Regions from separate parts of the Homo sapiens genome. Here all the other regions are linked to region 2. Evidence: promoter capture Hi-C in human tissues and cell types (Jung and others, 2019). All regions are on one chromosome and are shown on one strand. The core of a region is centred on a gene start or on the middle of the fragment in contact, and the rest is flanking DNA. Distances in the headings are between cores, read along the strand shown. Region 1 holds the start of GRIN1 (glutamate ionotropic receptor NMDA type subunit 1). Region 2 holds the start of LCNL1 (lipocalin like 1). Region 3 holds the start of TMEM203 (transmembrane protein 203). Region 4 holds the start of LOC107987143 (a long non-coding RNA gene). Region 5 holds the start of ANAPC2 (anaphase promoting complex subunit 2). Region 6 overlaps GRIN1 (glutamate ionotropic receptor NMDA type subunit 1).

Region 1 (2,700 bases), core at 20-2,519, 160 kb after region 2:
CACACCCTCCTGAGAGCCAACAGAAGGAGTGAGGGCCCCGAGGCGGATGACCCGTGTGCCTCAACCCGAACGGGGAGAGGCGGGGTCTGCAGCAGGGTACGGGCAGGTGATCCCCCAAGGAAAGATTTTCCTGTATTGAGAGAGAAGGGGCCAAGAGGAGGAGCTTGTCAAACACCACAGCCCCTCCCCCTCCTCTCAGCTCCAGGGGGTCCCTGGTGCCAGTGTTCGGCTGATGGAGAGAACGGCAAGCGGGAGAGAGAGTGTGACCCCTGTGGGCACATGACTTCCCTTGCTGCACTGCTGCACATAGCAGAGGTGTGGTGACGACCCTGTTTTGTCCCATTGGGGGCGTTTGCTGTTAGGTCTGCAGAATCCTCAGTTGCTATTGGAAATGGTGACATCACTGGCAGGGGCGGAGCTTCAGCCATCCTTCAAGTTAGGGAGGGGCACGCACACTCCAGGGGTGGAGGGGGACAAAGACAGGGTGGTGTGGACCAGAGGGATGGGTAAGGCTCTGGAAAAGGGGGCGCTGGGAGCGCATTGCGAGGGGGCTGGAGAGGGAGAGAGGAGCGGAAGCTGAGGGTGTGAAACGGCTGGCCCCGAACACACCTCGCGGCGCTCCAGTGATTCCTGGTGTCCGACCTCAGCCCCAGTCAGTGCGGGTCCAGTTTCCAGGCTCTCGCGGAAGGCCTGGCTGAGCACATGCGGCAGCCACGGTCACCCTCCCTATTCCTCTTAGCCCGAGGAGGGGGGTCCCAAGTTACATGGCCACGCAGATGGGGCCTCTCCCTCATTTCTGAACCTTGTGGGGAGGGGAACCTTGAAGGGAGCGCCCCCCAGAGCCATGGCTTAGGGCCTCCCCCACCCCTCTGGAGCTCCAGTCTGCAAGAGTCAGGAGCCGAAATATCGCTGACTGTGGGTGACGACTCTTGCGCGCACACACACATACAAGCGGGCACGACGCGTTCGGTCCTATTAAAAGGCACGCAAGGGTGCGGGCTGCACGCGGTGACACGGACCCCTCTAACGTTTCCAAACTGAGCTCCCTGCAGGTCCCCGACAGCACAGGCCCCTGTCCCAGGACCCCTCCAGGCACGCGCTCACACGCACACGCGCGCTCCCCGGCTCACGCGCGCTCCGACACACACGCTCACGCGAACGCAGGCGCACGCTCTGGCGCGGGAGGCGCCCCCTTCGCCTCCGTGTTGGGAAGCGGGGGCGGCGGGAGGGGCAGGAGACGTTGGCCCCGCTCGCGTTTCTGCAGCTGCTGCAGTCGCCGCAGCGTCCGGACCGGAACCAGCGCCGTCCGCGGAGCCGCCGCCGCCGCCGCCGGGCCCTTTCCAAGCCGGGCGCTCGGAGCTGTGCCCGGCCCCGCTTCAGCACCGCGGACAGCGCCGGCCGCGTGGGGCTGAGCCCCGAGCCCCCGCGCACGCTTCAGCGCCCCTTCCCTCGGCCGACGTCCCGGGACCGCCGCTCCGGGGGAGACGTGGCGTCCGCAGCCCGCGGGGCCGGGCGAGCGCAGGACGGCCCGGAAGCCCCGCGGGGGATGCGCCGAGGGCCCCGCGTTCGCGCCGCGCAGAGCCAGGCCCGCGGCCCGAGCCCATGAGCACCATGCGCCTGCTGACGCTCGCCCTGCTGTTCTCCTGCTCCGTCGCCCGTGCCGCGTGCGACCCCAAGATCGTCAACATTGGCGCGGTGCTGAGCACGCGGAAGCACGAGCAGATGTTCCGCGAGGCCGTGAACCAGGCCAACAAGCGGCACGGCTCCTGGAAGATTCAGCTCAATGCCACCTCCGTCACGCACAAGCCCAACGCCATCCAGATGGCTCTGTCGGTGTGCGAGGACCTCATCTCCAGCCAGGTGCCCTCCCCCACCTCCGCCACCCACCTCCCCTCTCCTCCATCCTGCAACCCCACACCCCCAGTTTCATTCCATCCTTTCCGTGCCCCCTTCCTCCCTGTAAGACACCACCCCAGAGTCAGCTGGCTGCTTCCGGGAGGCCTCGTCTCACTAGGAACCAAACACCAGGGTCTGCTGGCTCCCCTATCTTGGCCTGAGACCAGTCACCTGCCACCTTGGCTGGTCCTCAGAGGGCCCCTGGGGCTCCAGGCCCTGACTGGTGTGTGTAGACGTGGGGCTGGAGTGTGTCAGTGTGGGGGTGGGCATTCCGGGTAAGAGAGTAGAAGCGCCTGTCCAGCTACATGCCCGCCCTGCAGAGCTTTAAACAGGACGGGGCCTGGGGCCATCTTTGTTTCTGCTTCCAGGTTCTCCTGCCCTTTCTTTCGTCCCTTCCCCCTACCGATGGGTCCGCCTGGGAAGAGAAATGGCTCAGGTGCCACGGCAGGACGCTTTGTGGGGGTGGGAGTGGGGGTGCACACGCGAGAGGCATCAGGGCATGGGAGCTGTCGGCAGCCAGCGCTGCGGGGGAGGACGTGGCTCCTGGGATTTTGCCTGTCGGAGCTGTCCGCCCCTGGGCCGAGCGCCTGCTGAATTCCAATGAGGCTGCAAGGATCTGCAATGCAGCCCTTTATGTAAGAGGCAAGACAGACATCCAGCCTAGCACCGCTCACACGTGCCTACCTGATGGACACACCACATCTGTGGACACACATGCTCACACTCACACCAAATGTTACATTAGCACACACTCATGCACCTCAGCATCACACAATCAATTTCATATGCTCATCTGCACACATG
Region 2 (2,700 bases), core at 140-2,639:
CCCGGCCAGCCAGGTGACCCCCACGCTCTGGATGTCTCTGCTCTGTTCCTTCCCCGAGCCCCTGCCCCGGCTCCCCGCCAAAGCAACCCTGCCCACTCAGGCTTCATCCTGCACAATAAACTCCGGAAGCAAGTCAGTAGAGCTGGCTCCTGGCTGTCTGCGCTGTCATCACCCGTCCTGGGCCTGGCCCTGGCCACCCGGACCTCCCCCTCTAAAATCTCAGCCTGACGTCAACAAAGGAACAGGCCCTCTAGTGTTTGCTCCCAGTGGGGTCTTGAGTCAGGACAGCTAGGAGGGGGTGTCCCTCACTGTCTCCCACCCACCCCACACAGTCGTGTGCCCCTGCCCCACAGCCCCACACGTCGAGCCATACCCCCTCAGCTGCCACTGCCACCAGGCCGGTGCTGAGCTGGGGGTCAGTGACTCAGCTAATCCCTTAGGCAGGTGCCCTGCACCCCCAACGCCACCCTGTCACCCCCTCAGCAGTAAAGGCCTGAGGCTCGAGGCCCCAGAGGAGCTTTGGACCTGTTGGGTATCTTGAGGTGTGGGATTAACGCACTGAGATTGGGCAGAGATAAGGGTTTCAGGGGACAAAAAGAAACATTTGTTTGAAACATGCCAGAGTGTCTCCACCCCGCATCAGGACAGACTGACAGAGTGGGCTGGGGACAGGCTACCCCATATCCCTTCTGGCTCCCTGTGCGCCCCCTGCCCTCTGACCTGGGCCTCCAGATCACAGCCTTGTCCACTCACCAGAGCCCTGGCACCACGGCCACACCATGCCCGGCCAGTGCCCTGCCCAACCCTGCTCCCTTCCAGATTCCCACCCAGGCAGCCATTCTCAGGTACACAATGTGCAGGACTCACTGTGACCTGCCCACCAGGCCCCCCCGAGGCAGACCCTGCAGAGGCACCAAGCATTTTGAGGCTCGGAGGTGAGGGTGAGCTTCTGGGTGGCCTTCCCGGAGAAGGGGGCTTAGGGCTGTGCCTGAGCTCAAGGTAGGGGGGATTCCAACATCCCAGAGGGGCTGCAGAAGGCCGAAGAGGCAGGATGGGTGAGCTGCAGGCCCCCTAGCCCAGAGGCCCGTCAGAACTACCCTCAGCTGCCAGGCATCCGGCCCCACCCCGGAGGAAAGGCAACGGATGGCTGGGGTTGGGTGGAGGGAGCCAGGCCAGAGCGCTGCAGGGTGCAACTTGATCAGAAGCCTGTCACAGTGGGTGCAGTCCCAGGCCAGCCGCCCCAGGGCACCTCAGGGGCGTAAAGCCTACAGAGGAGCCACCTCAGCTCTGCCCTGCTCCCGTGTCCGGAGGAGATGCCATCTTGCTGCATGATGCTTCGGGCTCTGCTGATCAGTTCCCTCCTTGCCCTGCTCTGGGCATCCCCAGGCCAGGCCCAGGTCCCCATCCAGGCCAACTTTGATGCCAGCCAGGTGTGCCCAGCCCTGTTTCCTCCTCATCTCCAATGAGTCCTCCCGGCTTTGGTGCTGCACCCCGGGTCCCTGTCCACACCCTCTTTGATCCAGGCTCAGCAGGGCTAGGGGCAGGGGAAACCCCCACCTCACCCGCTCCGTCTGACTGGAGTAGGGGTTGGCTGGGGAAGACTGCAGCCTCCATCCTACCTTTTCAGTTGCATCCCCCAACAATCCCCAGGGCCCAAAATAGGGACAAGTTGGTTGCCTGTGCCTCACTGTCCCCCACCCACCCCACAAAGACCTGTGACCTTGCCACAGCCCCACCCATCCAGCCGTACCCCCTGGGTGCCAGCTGCAGACAGGCCGGTGCTGGGCTGGTGGGGGCCAGTTGCTCATGTACTGAGGCCCCCCTCCCTCAGTTCTGCATCGGGGTCGAGATGTGTACAGCAGCCCCTGCCGTGGCCAGGAAGCAGCTGTGTCGGGGCAGAATGTGGTGGGCTCAGGCCCAGGGCACAGGGGCGGCCTCCCAGCCTTCCCTGCACTTGCCCTGCAGTTCCAGGGCACCTGGTACATGGTCGGGGTGGTGTCAGATGACCAGGACTTCCTGGACTCCAAGGACACCATGAAGATGGCTGTGGTCTTAGTGACCCCCTTGGGGAATGGTGACCTGGCCCTCAAGTTTGGATACCCCACGTAAGTGACCACACGAGCCCATCAGACTCAGCCTCAGAGGATGGCCAGCATGAGGCCACATGAAGGTCCAGAGGGACCATGGTGTCCCCAGCACATTGAGGTCAGACCACGGGTCCTCGACGGCTCTGTGCGGCAGAGCCCCAGATGGCAGCCACACGGAGTCCAGAGGGACCCAGGCCCTGGAGGAAGCACTGCCTGAGGCCTGGTGTTGAGAAAAGTGTCTGCATGTCTGTGTCTGTGTGTGTATCACTGTATGTGGCTGTGTCTCTGTGTATGTGTGTCTATTTCTGCATGTGTGTGTGTCTGTGTGTGCGTGTGTATGCATGTGTGTCTTTGTAGATGTGTACCTCTGAGTGTGTATGTGTGTATCACTGTATGCGTCTGTGTGTCTGTGTGTCTGTGTATCTGTGTCTGGCTGTGTGTGTCTATCTCTGTGTGTGTCTTGTGTGCGTGTCTATGTGTGTGTCTGTCAGTGTGTCTGTGTCTGTGTCTATCTCCGTGTGTGTGCATGTGTGTATGTGTGTGTCTTCTGTGTGTCTGTGTCTGGAAGGGGGACCTGGAGGCCCTGCATTCTAGGCTGTGTGCCTGTGAACAG
Region 3 (2,700 bases), core at 123-2,622, 220 kb after region 2:
TCAGGTGTGCTAAGAGTGCCAGCCCAAGGTGGTCAAAAGTCCACAAAACTGCAGTCTTTGCTGGGATAGTAAGCCAAGCAGTGCCTGGACAGCAGAGTTCTTTTCTTGGGCAACAGATAACCAGACAGGACTCTAATCGTGCTCTTATTCAACATTCTTCTGTCTCTGCCTAGACTGGAATAAAAAGCCAATCTCTCTCGTGGCACAGGGAAGGAGATACAAGCTCGTTTACATGTGATAGATCTAACAAAGGCATCTACCGAAGTCTGGTCTGGATAGACGGCACAGGGAGCTCTTAGGTCAGCGCTGCTGGTTGGAGGACATTCCTGAGTCCAGCTTTGCAGCCTTTGTGCAACAGTACTTTCCCAGGATCCACAGGAAATACTCAGAGTCCACCTGGACATTTTACTTATATTCAGTTTCCAAGTGTCAGAGGGGTTCAGGACTGTCTGGCCTGGGGGGCCTCCTCATGACCTCAATTCAGGATTATCTACTCAAAGCATTAAACAAAAGGAAATACATTTTCAGGATGAAGGCTGCTCTTTTAAGCCCTGCTGAAGAAACCATTTCAAACAGGATTGGAATAGGGAAACCCGGCACTCAGCTCGGCGCAAGCCGGCGGTGCCTTCAGACTAGAGAGCCTCTCCTCCGGTGCGCTGCAAGTAGGGCCTCGGCTCGAGGTCAACATTCTAGTTGTCCAGCGCTCCCTCTCCGGCACCTCGGTGAGGCTAGTTGACCCGACAGGCGCGGATCATGAGCAGCTGCAGGAGAATGAAGAGCGGGGACGTAATGAGGCCGAACCAGAGCTCCCGAGTCTGCTCCGCCAGCTTCTGGCACAACAGCATCTCGAAGACGAACTTGAGACTCAGGACCGTAAGTACCCAGAAAAGGCGGAGCACCGCCAGCCGCTTCTCTCCATCCTGGAAGAGGCGCACGGACACGATGGTGGTGAAGTAGGTGCTGAGCCCGTCAGCGGCGAAGAAAGGCACGAACACGTTCCACCAGGAGAGGCCCGGGACCAGGCCATCCACACGCAGTGCCAGCAGCACAGAGAACACCAACAGGGCCAGCAGGTGCACGAAGATCTCGAAGGTGGCGAAGCCTAGCCACTGCACCAGCTCCCGGAGCGAGAAGAGCATCGCGCCCGTTGAGCGCGGGCCGGGGCCCGGCCGAGCGTGCCACCCGCGGGGCTGCGTCTCCTCTCCCCGTGGCCCTCGCCCGCGCCTGCCGCCGCTGCTGCGAGCGAGAGGCAGCGAGCGGCCCCGCCAGCCCCAGCCCTCGGCCCTGATGCGCCGGCAATCCCCCGGCCCCGACCCGGGACTCAACCCTGGCCGCCCGTGAACGCCCGCCTCGATCGGACGCCATGCCCCCACAGGGCGCGTCCCTAGTGCGTCACTTCCGGTCGACGGCGGAAGGCGGAAGGCGGAGCGGTCCCTGCAACCCGGCCGGCGGGAACTGCCTTCTAGTTTTTAGTCTCAGACCAGACCACCGGGCGCACCCCGATGCCGAGCCCGCAGCTTCTGGTGCTCTTCGGCAGCCAGACAGGCACGGCTCAGGATGTGTCGGAGAGACTGGGTCGCGAGGCCCGGCGCCGGCGGCTTGGCTGCCGGGTGCAGGCCCTGGACTCCTACCCGGTGGTGAGGGCTCGCTAGGGCCTCGGCGTGGGGGACGAGCAGGCCTGGCGTGCCCGCCTCGCGGGGTCATCGACCCAAAAGGCGTCGCATTTTCTCTGAGAGCGGGTCTTTCCCTTATGGCGGATTTAGGGAAGGAGGTTTGGGAAGGGGAGTTCAGTTTAGCACCTGGAGGAGGTTGGAACCTGAAAGAGAAGACGGTCTGGCTGCTCACATAAATCCCTCTGCCCTGTCAGCCTGAGTAAAGGAGAAGGGGGTCAAGTTTTGGGAAGGACGCCCGGTCCTTACAGCCGGAGGTCTTACGTGTGTGTGTCTTTTTGTTGAGGTGAATCTGATTAACGAGCCCCTGGTGATATTTGTTTGTGCAACTACAGGCCAAGGAGACCCCCCTGACAACATGAAGGTAAGGCTGGCCTGATGTGGCTCCTCAGATCCCTGCCCTCGACCCTCACCCCGTTTTCATTGCCTGGCGTCTAGGTGCAGTAAATAGCTCTCCTTTATCTCATGCACCTTCAGAGGTGGATTTGAGAGAACGTCCGTGAGTGGGGCTGGGGGCTCCGGTTGCCCTCTCTAATAAACTCGTCGTAGCCACCAAATAGCCTTATTATCCGTTTTAACCTTTCTTATTTTTCCAGGGCTATCTATATGTGCATCTAGTCTGGGTCTTGTGTGTATTTCTAGACTGTATGACCCTCAGGGAACGTTGCTGAATTCTCTGACCATCTTTTAAGCACATATTCTATTCTTGGCACAGTCTGGTGCTGGGGATCCAGCTGTGAACCCAGCAGCCATATTTCCATCCTGGCAGAGTTCACACTGTAGCAGAAGCAGCTAACGGGCAATGACAGTGCCAGCAAACACCTGCTGCTGGGGAAAGTAGCATATGTCACAGGAGCACTGATAAGGGGCATCGAGCCTTATCTCACCCAACCTTGGGGCCCAGGCAGAGGTTTCTGGAAGAAAAGAGTGTAAGCTGAGTCACGGAAGGATGCGTGAGGGCTAGTCAGGCACCGAGGAAGAAGGAGCAGTCAGCGCAGAGGAAAAAGATGATTTGGTTTGTGTGAAAAGT
Region 4 (2,700 bases), core at 88-2,587, 210 kb before region 2:
TAGCCAGGGCTGCCACTCATCTGTCTCCCCCACGCCAGGCCTCGCCCCCACCCCGAGTGTCCCAGGCCCCCGCCACTGCACCCTGCCCCTAATAGCACTTCCTAACCCGAGACCTCTGCCCTCAGAGGAGGAGGAAAAACCTTCCTCTCTCTCTTTGCCCTGCTGAGGGGGTCTGCCCTGCACGACAACACCAGGGGGCCCCGAGCCCCCTCCCCTTCCCTGGGCAGCCTCCTCACTCACGCAGCCTCATCTGCATGGCTCCCCTCCGCGTGCTGGTGGCGTCCCTCCATTCTTCCACCAGGGGGCAGTCTGCTCTGCTCTGCGCTCTGGGCCCCGCCTGCCCGCACCCCGCCTGCCCCTCACCCCGCCTGCCCCGCACCCCGCCTGCCCCTCACCCCGCCTGCCCCGCACCCCGCCTGCCCCTCACCCCGCCTGCCCCGCACCCCGCCTGCCCGCACCCCGCCTGCCCGCACCCCGCCTGCCCCGCACCCCGCCTGCCCGCACCCCGCCTGCCCGCACCCCGCCTGCCCCGCACCCCGCCTGCCCGCACCCCGCCTGCCCCGCACCCCGCCTGCCCCTCACCCCGCCTGCCCGCACCCCGCCTGCCCCGCACCCCGCCTGCCCCGCACCCCGCCTGCCCGCACCCCGCCTGCCCCGCACCCCGCCTGCCCCTCACCCCGCCTGCCCGCACCCCGCCTGCCCGCACCCCGCCTGCCCCGCACCCCGCCTGCCCGCACCCCGCCTGCCTCTGGGTACATCGTTTCTTTGGGTTGGAGCTACCCCTCAGCGTCCCTCCTGAAAGTGTGTCAGCGCTGAGCCAGGATTGGAAAAAGAGATCGTCAACGTTTTATTCTGGTGATAATCCTCCAAATAAAATCATTACCAAGTCACGAATTCTCCCTGAATCATCATCTATAAACTTTTTTATCTTTATTTATTTTTTAAATTTTTCTGGAGACAGAGTCTCACTCTGTCACCCAGGCTGGAGTGCAGTGGTGCGATCTCGGCTCACTGCAACCTCCGCCTCCCGGGTTCAAGGGATTCTCCTGCCTCAGCCTCCCGAGTAGCTGGGATTACAGGCGCGTGCCACCTGGCTAATTTTTGTATTTTTAGTAGAGACGGTGTTTCACCATGTTGCCCAGGCTGATCTCGAACTCCTGACCTTAAGTGATCCGCCTGCCTCGGCCTCCCAAAGTGCTGAGATGACAGGTGTGAGTCACCGTGCTCAGCTTATTTCTTTACTTTCTTAATAAACTTGCTTTCACTTTGTGGACTTGCCCCAACTTCTTTCTTGCACAAGGTCCAAGAACCCCTCTCTTAGCGTCTGGATCAGGACCCCAAGAATGAGAGAATGGGAAGGCGCAGGGCGTCCAACAGGACTTTCCGGGAGCATGTTTGCCTGACTCCAGGTGGGCCCTGTCGGAAGCTGGGTCAAAATGAAAGACAGCTGCCAGTTACTACCCACGTCCTGGGCACGGGGGCCATTGCTCCGGGCTTGCTGTGGGCTTCCCGCTGGCTGCTGGAATCAGAGCTCTGTCCTGGTAGGGTCTGCTCATTGTCCATTTGCATATTCCCGTCTCCCACCATCCAGAAAACAATGTAACAGGAAGGGCACAGTGGCTGACGCCTGTAATCCCAGCACTTTGGGAGGCCAAGGTGGGCAGATCACCTGAGGTCAGGAGGTCGAGACCAGCCTGACCAACATGGAGAAACCCCGTCTCTACTAAAAAGATACAAAAAAATTAGCCAGGCGTGGTGGCTTACGCCTGTAATCCCAGCACTTTGGGATCAGGAGTTCGAGACCAGCCTGACCAACATGGTGAAACCTCGTCTCTACTAAAAACATATAAAAAAATTAGCTGGACATAGTAGTGGGCACCTGTAATCCCAGCTACTGGGGAGGCTGAGGCAAGAGAATCACTTGAACCCAGGCGGCGGAGGTTGCAGTGAGCCAAGATAGTGCCAACTGCACTCTCCAGCCTGGGTGACAGAGCAAGACTCTGTGTCAAAAAAAAAGAAAAAAGAAAAAAAAAAAAGAAAACAGTGTAGCAGGCAAAGGTTTGATTTCCACACCAAAGCCTAACTCTGAGAGCATGGTTTTCTTCCAGATTCTCTCTAAATACTAATTTCAGGGAAGACAGGCCCATTCCCAGCCTCCTGGAAATCCTTCTCAACACAGTTCTTGAGTCTGTGGTCCCTCCCATGGTCCTCCCCACCAGCACTCTGCTGTAGCTCTCAGGCTGCTCTGCCACCTCCCCTCCCCATCTACCTGCTCAAGGACTGGCCCGTTTGCTGTCTTGGGTGGAAGGGGCAGTCCTGAACTCTCTTCTTCAAAGTGACAGTTTAATTCTCCACCCCTTAAATCTTGGCGGGAGGGGCACCTTGTGACTGCTTTTGTAACCGAACACACATTCAGCTGCTCAAAAGCCAAAACTCAAGAGACAGGAGTTGGTGGGAAGAAAGCAATTTATTCAGACAGCCAGCAAACCAAGAAGATGGTGGACTAGAGTCCTAATGTGCCATCTCAGGTGGGTACAAATTTCAAGCTCTTTTTATGTTAAGGGCAGAGAAAGAGAAGGTGGTTAGGATCAAGAAGTGATCTACAGTCGGGTGCGGTGGCTCACGCCTGTAATCCCAACACTCCCACTTTGGGAGGCCGAGGCGAGCAGATCATCTGAGGTCGGGAGTTCGAGACCAGCC
Region 5 (2,700 bases), core at 95-2,594, 210 kb after region 2:
GTTGCTAAGAAATTTGCTGCTGCAGACACAAGCCACATAGGGCCTTACCAGGGTCAAGGCATGAATCTGTGGGACTGAAGGTGAGTGACAGAAGAGAGACACCTGTGTCCAGGACACGCTGCACAGGAATCCCTGGGACTCTCTCTCTGTCATGTTCCTGGTTATCAGGACGGCTCACCAGCTTTCTGCTGAGGCCAGCTGGACCCAGGGGAGCAGCGGGGAACCAGAAGGAGCAAGGGCATGGCCATCGGGACAGACTACTCACAAGACCTGGCTGAGCTGATGGAACTGCTCCAGAGCCTGGCGACACCAGCACTGTTGCTTGTCACTGCTGCACCCTGCACACAGCGGGCTCTGCAGGAGCCGGTAGTACCGGCGACGGGCATACCGGCTGTCCAGCTCCCCTTCCAGTTCCGGGTCTGTGCCCCCTTCCCCCTTCCTCTTACTCTGCATATAGACTCTCAAGAAGCACCCATACAGACGCTGGATCATCTCTTGGAAGGTTCTGGGGGTGCTAAAGAACAAGACTCCGCGCAACATAGTGTGGACTTCTTCTCGCAGCCCCTGAGCACCAGTGCCCATCAGCAAGCCCAGGCGAGTCCATTTCTCCAGCAGCTCTAGGCTACGCAGGTAGGGATCCAGGCGGCTCTCCAGCAGGCCAAAAGCGTCAAGGAGTAGCAAAAGGCACTGGGGCTCATCCGCAGAGTTCTCGCATTGGGAGATGGCATTCCAGAACTCAGGGGAGATGTTGGCCTGCAGATCGTTCTGCAGCACCTCCACGAACCACTCCTCCAGGACCGAGTGTAGCCCGTGGCCCCTCAGAACCTCCACCGCCGCCCGGAGCTCCTCTTCCTTTGGCGGGACTGCACCGCTGGTCCGGGAAGACACCTGGGGTGCAGAAAACCGTGAGGCGAGGGGAACACAACATAGAGGTGGGGAGAGGCGGGGAAGGGAAGAAGCTGAGGGGGAGGCTGCAAAAACTCCGCTGCCCCCTGTCCGTGCTGCCCGGACGTTGGGCCGAAGCTATGGAAGGGCTGTCAGCGGAGCTGAACGAAACGAAACGGAAAGGTGGTGGAAAATGGCAGGACAGGACAGAGGCGGATGATGGACAGAGCCGTATGAACCCGAGGGTAGCGGCCCCAAAGCGCGTACGGTCCCGGAAACTCCGCGCGGGGCCGCCCCTCTCTTCCCAGGCCTCACCAGCCCCAGCGCAGCCGGCGGCACCAGGCCGGTGCTCACGGTGTTCCAGGCCACTAACAACTCCTGTCCGGGCCGGGAGTCGCTGTCCCCCTCCGCCACCACAACTGCCGCCGCCATCTGCACCCACCGACTCCGAGATTCGCTCGGCGCGGCGCGCGGCGATGACGCACGTCTGCACGCGCAGCCATGACGCGCACAAGGCGCTCAGCGATGACGCGCTAGTTCGGCGCGCCGTGGGGGAGTCGTGCGCAGGCGCGGACAGCGCTGCTTCCGCGGCGGTTGGGGTGGTGGGGCCCCGGGCGGCGTTGACCATGACCCAGCAGGGCGCGGCGCTGCAGAACTACAACAACGAGCTGGTCAAGTGTGAGCGGCGCAGCCGGGACGGGGAGGTCGGGAGGGCCGCAGGGCCGGGTTCCCGGCTCGCAGCGGGGTGCCCCTGGACCCGCCTCGCTGCGGGCATCGCGCGGCTGAGCAGAGCCCTCCGTGCCGGAGGCCGGGTGTCCGTGGCCCGAGCCCTCGCTGGCTCGCAGGCCCCGCGCCGGGCGCTCGGGGGTGGTGCCTGACTCTGGCTTCCTCGGGTGGAAGGAGGCCCGCCCTCCGCCGCCGCGCTCCTGCCCTGGGCCCACAGCGCCGCCCCTCCCGGCCCCCAGGCATAGAGGAGCTGTGCCAGAAGCGGGAGGAGCTGTGCCGGCAGATCCAGGAGGAGGAGGACGAGAAGCAGCGGCTGCAGAATGAGGTGAGGCAGCTGACAGAGAAGCTGGCCCGCGTCAACGAGAACCTGGCACGCAAGATTGCCTCTCGCAACGAGTTCGACCGGACCATCGCGGAGACGGAGGCCGCCTACCTCAAGGTGGAGCTCGGGAGGCCAGGCCGAGCATCAGGGGATAGGCACGGCAGGGGTGTTGCCACGGCAAGGCGTCAGGACCGGCTGGGGCTCCCGGCTGTGGGCAGTCTGTGCCTCGCTGGCATTTCGGGCAGGGGCAGCGTGGCCAGGCCCATTGAGGAACCCAGGCTGCTGTGGGAGTGACTGTGGGGCTGTCTGTGGGGCCTGGGGCATCCTGGGTCCTGGTCTTTATCCGGTTCTCGCTAGCCATGTGGTTATTTCTGCTCAGTGTGAAGAGCCAGGTCTTGGGCAGAGCACCCAGCACGGGCCAGTGCTAACCCAGCCTGGCTTTGAGGGTGGAGAGGAAGTGTTTTGGGTCAGATTCCGGAGGGAAGAGGGCCCTGCCACCCCGTCTGCCAGTCCCCTTGGGCTTCCGCCTTCCCCCACACAGGATCCCTTGGCTACAGCACCCCCAGCCAGGTCCCAGCACCTGAGTGTGAGGACAGCTGGGGCTTAGGACCTTACCAACAGGTGAACATTAACAACCTTCTCACTTCTCTGGCCCCAGATCCTGGAGAGCTCCCAGACTTTGCTCAGCGTTCTCAAGAGGGAAGCTGGGAACCTGACCAAGGCTACAGCCCCAGACCAGAAAAGTAGCGGCGGCAGGGACAGCTGAC
Region 6 (2,700 bases), core at 123-2,622, 180 kb after region 2:
GGAGCTGCCTCTGTCACTCCAATTCCACCTCGACACCTGCCTCCAGCCCTCGGCCCCTTCCTGAATCTTGGTGTGTGCCCCTTGGGGGTCAGTGGCCTCCACGCAGACAGCTGGTGTGGCCTGAGGGGCAACTCCTCCAGTCCTCAGAGGACTCCTCCTCCTCGGGACGCCTGTAAGCCAGGGCCACCCAGGAGCCAGGGAGCCAGGCGGACCTCCCAGGAAGAGCCAGCCGAGAGCCCCCAAGCCCAGCCCCAGCACGAGCAAGGTCAGGCCCGAGACCCCGGGCAGGAGAAGAGGCCACCCTCGAACGTCCGCTGTCGGCCCGTCTGTCCAGCACAGGGAGGCAGGCAGGAGCGAGGGCCCAAGTGGCCGGCCAGGCTGGGCAGCGGCCCATGCAGGAGCAGGCGAGGGCAGGTGTGGCCACCACCCTAGCCATCTAATCACTTATACATATTCATTTTAGGATAGAAAGAGTGGTAGAGCAGAGCCTGACCCTAAAAAGAAAGCCACATTTAGGGCTATCACCTCCACCCTGGCTTCCAGCTTCAAGAGGCGTAGGTCCTCCAAAGACACGGTAAGGGGGAGAGCACCCCAGTCCCGCGTCCGACTCCACCTGCCCTGCCCTGCGTGTGTCTCCCGCCCCATCACCCCGCCCCGGACCCTGGGCTCCTGTGGCCCACTCTGCCCCTGTCTCCCTGTGGCGGCCGCTCTGCCCAGCCCGCCCATGCTGCTCTCTCTCACTCTCTGGACCTTTCTCCCCGGCCCTCCTGGGTCCTCGGCTTTCCCCGTGTGTCTCCGTTAGTCTGCCCGCCCACCTCCCCTGCCATGACCCACACGCCATCTTGAAGCCTGTCATCTCGTTGGTCAGTCAGTCAGCCACACCACCTCTCGGGGCCAGGTCTGGGGCCCTGGGAGCCCAGCGTGGCCCCATCCTGGACTCCTCAGCTGCCGGGAGGCCACACCACTTCTCTGTTATGTCCCCGTTTCTCTCGCCTCTCCCAGAGGGGCCCGCCGCCCTCACTTCGCCCCTGCGACGGCCCTGGAGGGGGTGGCTGTGATGTCCCATCCCGTCCGTCTGTCTGGCCACTGGCCCCGCCCCCCAGACACCTGTCTCACCTGTCTCACCAGAGCCATGCGTGTTGCATCTTCATGTGGTCTCTGTGTGGGCCGGGGGCTGGGGGCCGGGCCTGGGTCCGTCTGGGTGGACGGCTGGGGCCTGGAGTTGGAACTGGCCCCGGCCACAGGGGACTGTCAGGCAGGGAGTGGGGTGGGACCAAAAGGGGTGGCTCCCACCCCAGGCTGAGCGGGGGCCCTGCAGGAGGTGTGGCGGCAGCTCCCAGAGGGTCTGAGAATGGGTAGGGGCGGCCCCACAAGCCCTGGCCTGCAGAGCCCAGGACGACACTGAGGTTCCCAGACAGGGAGGCCTCTGGAAGGGAAACGACCACCTCAGCTCCTGACCCCAGCAACCCCACAAGGCCCACCCCAAAGAGCCAGGCCTTCTGCCCTTTGGAGCCCAGAATCCCCCACCTCCTGCTCGGGGCAGCTTGTCCCTGTAGCGGATATGCACACTCGGACCAGAGGCCCCCAGAGCGAACCCAGCCTTGCTAGAGGCACCCCAGGCCCAGGCACCATGGTGGGGAGGGGCTGCCCAGAGAGGCAGCGGAGACCTCAGCCCCGTGGCCACCCTGCAGTCCAGGGACCAGTCTGGCCCACAGGAAGCCCCCAGCCCATAAGCAGCATCACCAGAGAGAAGCTTACGCCCGGGGGAGGAAGTGCGATTTGCAGCCACCTGCCCCTCAGTGCACTGGAAGCGGGGCAGACCTCCAGGGCACAGACAGGACTTGGCATCAAGCAAGCCAAATCCCGAGATGAAGCCACCAGGGTGCCCCAAGAGGGACCCATGAGGCCTGGCTGCTCAGCTTCCTGGGGAAGGGACTTGGCATGCAGGATGGGTGGACAGTGAGAGCCTGTAGGCCTGGGGGCCACTGGAGGCTCAAGGAGCAGGTGGAAGCACCATTCCTGGAGCCACCTCTGCTGCGGAAAGCGGGCAGAGCTGATGCTGCAAAGTCTGAGCCAGGAGTCCCGCAGGGAACAGGGAGGGGGAATAGCGCAGGGATCGTGGGCTGGGCAGGCTGGGGAAGAGGGGGTGTCCAGGCAGACAGGAGAAACAGCGATTTGGGGCAGGCAGCCACGGGGGGCAAGCACAAATGTCGTGCAGGTGATGGGCCACTTTCAGAGGGTGACACTGGGTCCCAGGGCCCTGCCTGGAGCGAGGCCAGGTGCAGCTCAGAGACCCTCATGGTGCCCTCCCAGGGACATGTTCCCAGCGGAACCCTCACCCGAGCCTCTCTGGGCACCAGGGACCGTCCTCTGGGGCCAGTTCTGGCATCACGTGGCATCTGGGGCTGGCCCCGCCCTGCAAGGCTGAACTGTGGGGGGCACTGCCAGCTGGGGGTCTGGGCAGGGGAGGGCAGCCCAGCTCCCACCTGGTCTCTGGGGCTGCGAGCTTATTCAGAGGGAGGCGTGGGTGGGGGGCTCCTTTGGGTAGGGTGGGGTCAGTCCGGCTGCGGAGATCCCCTGCCCCTGTCCTGTGGCCGGTCCGGGCCAGGGCGGCACTGGGCGCTGAGGGCTGGGGTCCCTGGCGGCCGGCGGGGCCAGCGGGTATTGATTGTTGGTTCTTATTTATAGAGCACCGGGGGT

Evidence for each region. Contacts are between HindIII fragments. The study calls those that stand out against the background at their distance.
Region 1: the fragment with the promoter of GRIN1 here is called in contact with the fragment with the promoter of LCNL1 in region 2 in 1 of the 25 tissues and cell types used here (spleen).
Region 3: a contact is called between the fragment with the promoter of TMEM203 here and the fragment with the promoter of LCNL1 in region 2, in 3 of the 25 tissues and cell types used here (dorsolateral prefrontal cortex, lymphoblastoid cells and mesenchymal stem cells).
Region 4: a contact is called between a fragment that was not itself captured here and the fragment with the promoter of LCNL1 in region 2, in 3 of the 25 tissues and cell types used here (lymphoblastoid cells, mesenchymal stem cells and spleen).
Region 5: the fragment with the promoter of ANAPC2 here is called in contact with the fragment with the promoter of LCNL1 in region 2 in 3 of the 25 tissues and cell types used here (dorsolateral prefrontal cortex, lymphoblastoid cells and spleen).
Region 6: a fragment that was not itself captured here is called in contact with the fragment with the promoter of LCNL1 in region 2 in 1 of the 25 tissues and cell types used here (spleen).

Annotation. Positions count from the first base shown.
Region 1 is chr9:137,137,885-137,140,584 of GRCh38, forward strand. GRIN1 (glutamate ionotropic receptor NMDA type subunit 1) reads left to right here and starts at 1,270. Exons shown (of 20, transcript NM_007327.4): 1 at 1,270-1,860. The coding sequence starts at 1,603. RefSeq lists a silencer at 813-1,107. The HindIII fragment of the contact is 23,460 bases long and covers 1-2,700 here.
Region 2 is chr9:136,981,604-136,984,303 of GRCh38, forward strand. It overlaps LCNL1 (lipocalin like 1), which reads left to right and starts at 1,390. Exons shown (of 3, transcript NM_207510.4): 1 at 1,390-2,105. The coding sequence starts at 1,984. PTGDS (prostaglandin D2 synthase) reads left to right here. Exons shown (of 7, transcript NM_000954.6): 7 at 1-139. The HindIII fragment of the contact is 9,863 bases long and covers 1-2,700 here.
Region 3 is chr9:137,204,276-137,206,975 of GRCh38, forward strand. TMEM203 (transmembrane protein 203) reads right to left here and starts at 1,373. Exons shown (of 1, transcript NM_053045.2): 1 at 1-1,373. The coding sequence starts at 1,139. The coding sequence ends at 729. NDOR1 (NADPH dependent diflavin oxidoreductase 1) reads left to right here and starts at 1,425. Exons shown (of 14, transcript NM_014434.4): 1 at 1,425-1,637; 2 at 1,957-2,034. The coding sequence starts at 1,503. RefSeq lists a silencer at 1,129-1,388. The HindIII fragment of the contact is 14,043 bases long and covers 1-2,700 here.
Region 4 is chr9:136,769,842-136,772,541 of GRCh38, forward strand. It overlaps LOC107987143 (a long non-coding RNA gene), which reads right to left and starts at 311. Exons shown (of 3, transcript XR_001746981.2): 1 at 241-311. RefSeq lists an enhancer at 963-1,463. The HindIII fragment of the contact is 6,223 bases long and covers 1-2,700 here.
Region 5 is chr9:137,187,216-137,189,915 of GRCh38, forward strand. ANAPC2 (anaphase promoting complex subunit 2) reads right to left here and starts at 1,345. Exons shown (of 13, transcript NM_013366.4): 1 at 1,201-1,345; 2 at 266-888. The coding sequence starts at 1,317. SSNA1 (SS nuclear autoantigen 1) reads left to right here and starts at 1,461. Exons shown (of 3, transcript NM_003731.3): 1 at 1,461-1,563; 2 at 1,851-2,050; 3 at 2,592-2,700. The coding sequence starts at 1,512. The coding sequence ends at 2,699. RefSeq lists an enhancer at 1,253-1,472 and a silencer at 1,503-1,852. The HindIII fragment of the contact is 18,290 bases long and covers 1-2,700 here.
Region 6 is chr9:137,164,723-137,167,422 of GRCh38, forward strand. It overlaps GRIN1 (glutamate ionotropic receptor NMDA type subunit 1), which reads left to right. Exons shown (of 20, transcript NM_007327.4): 19 at 464-574; 20 at 2,689-2,700. Among named protein-coding and RNA genes, the nearest start is that of MIR3621, 3.2 kb to the right of the region's middle. The HindIII fragment of the contact is 3,110 bases long and covers 1-2,700 here.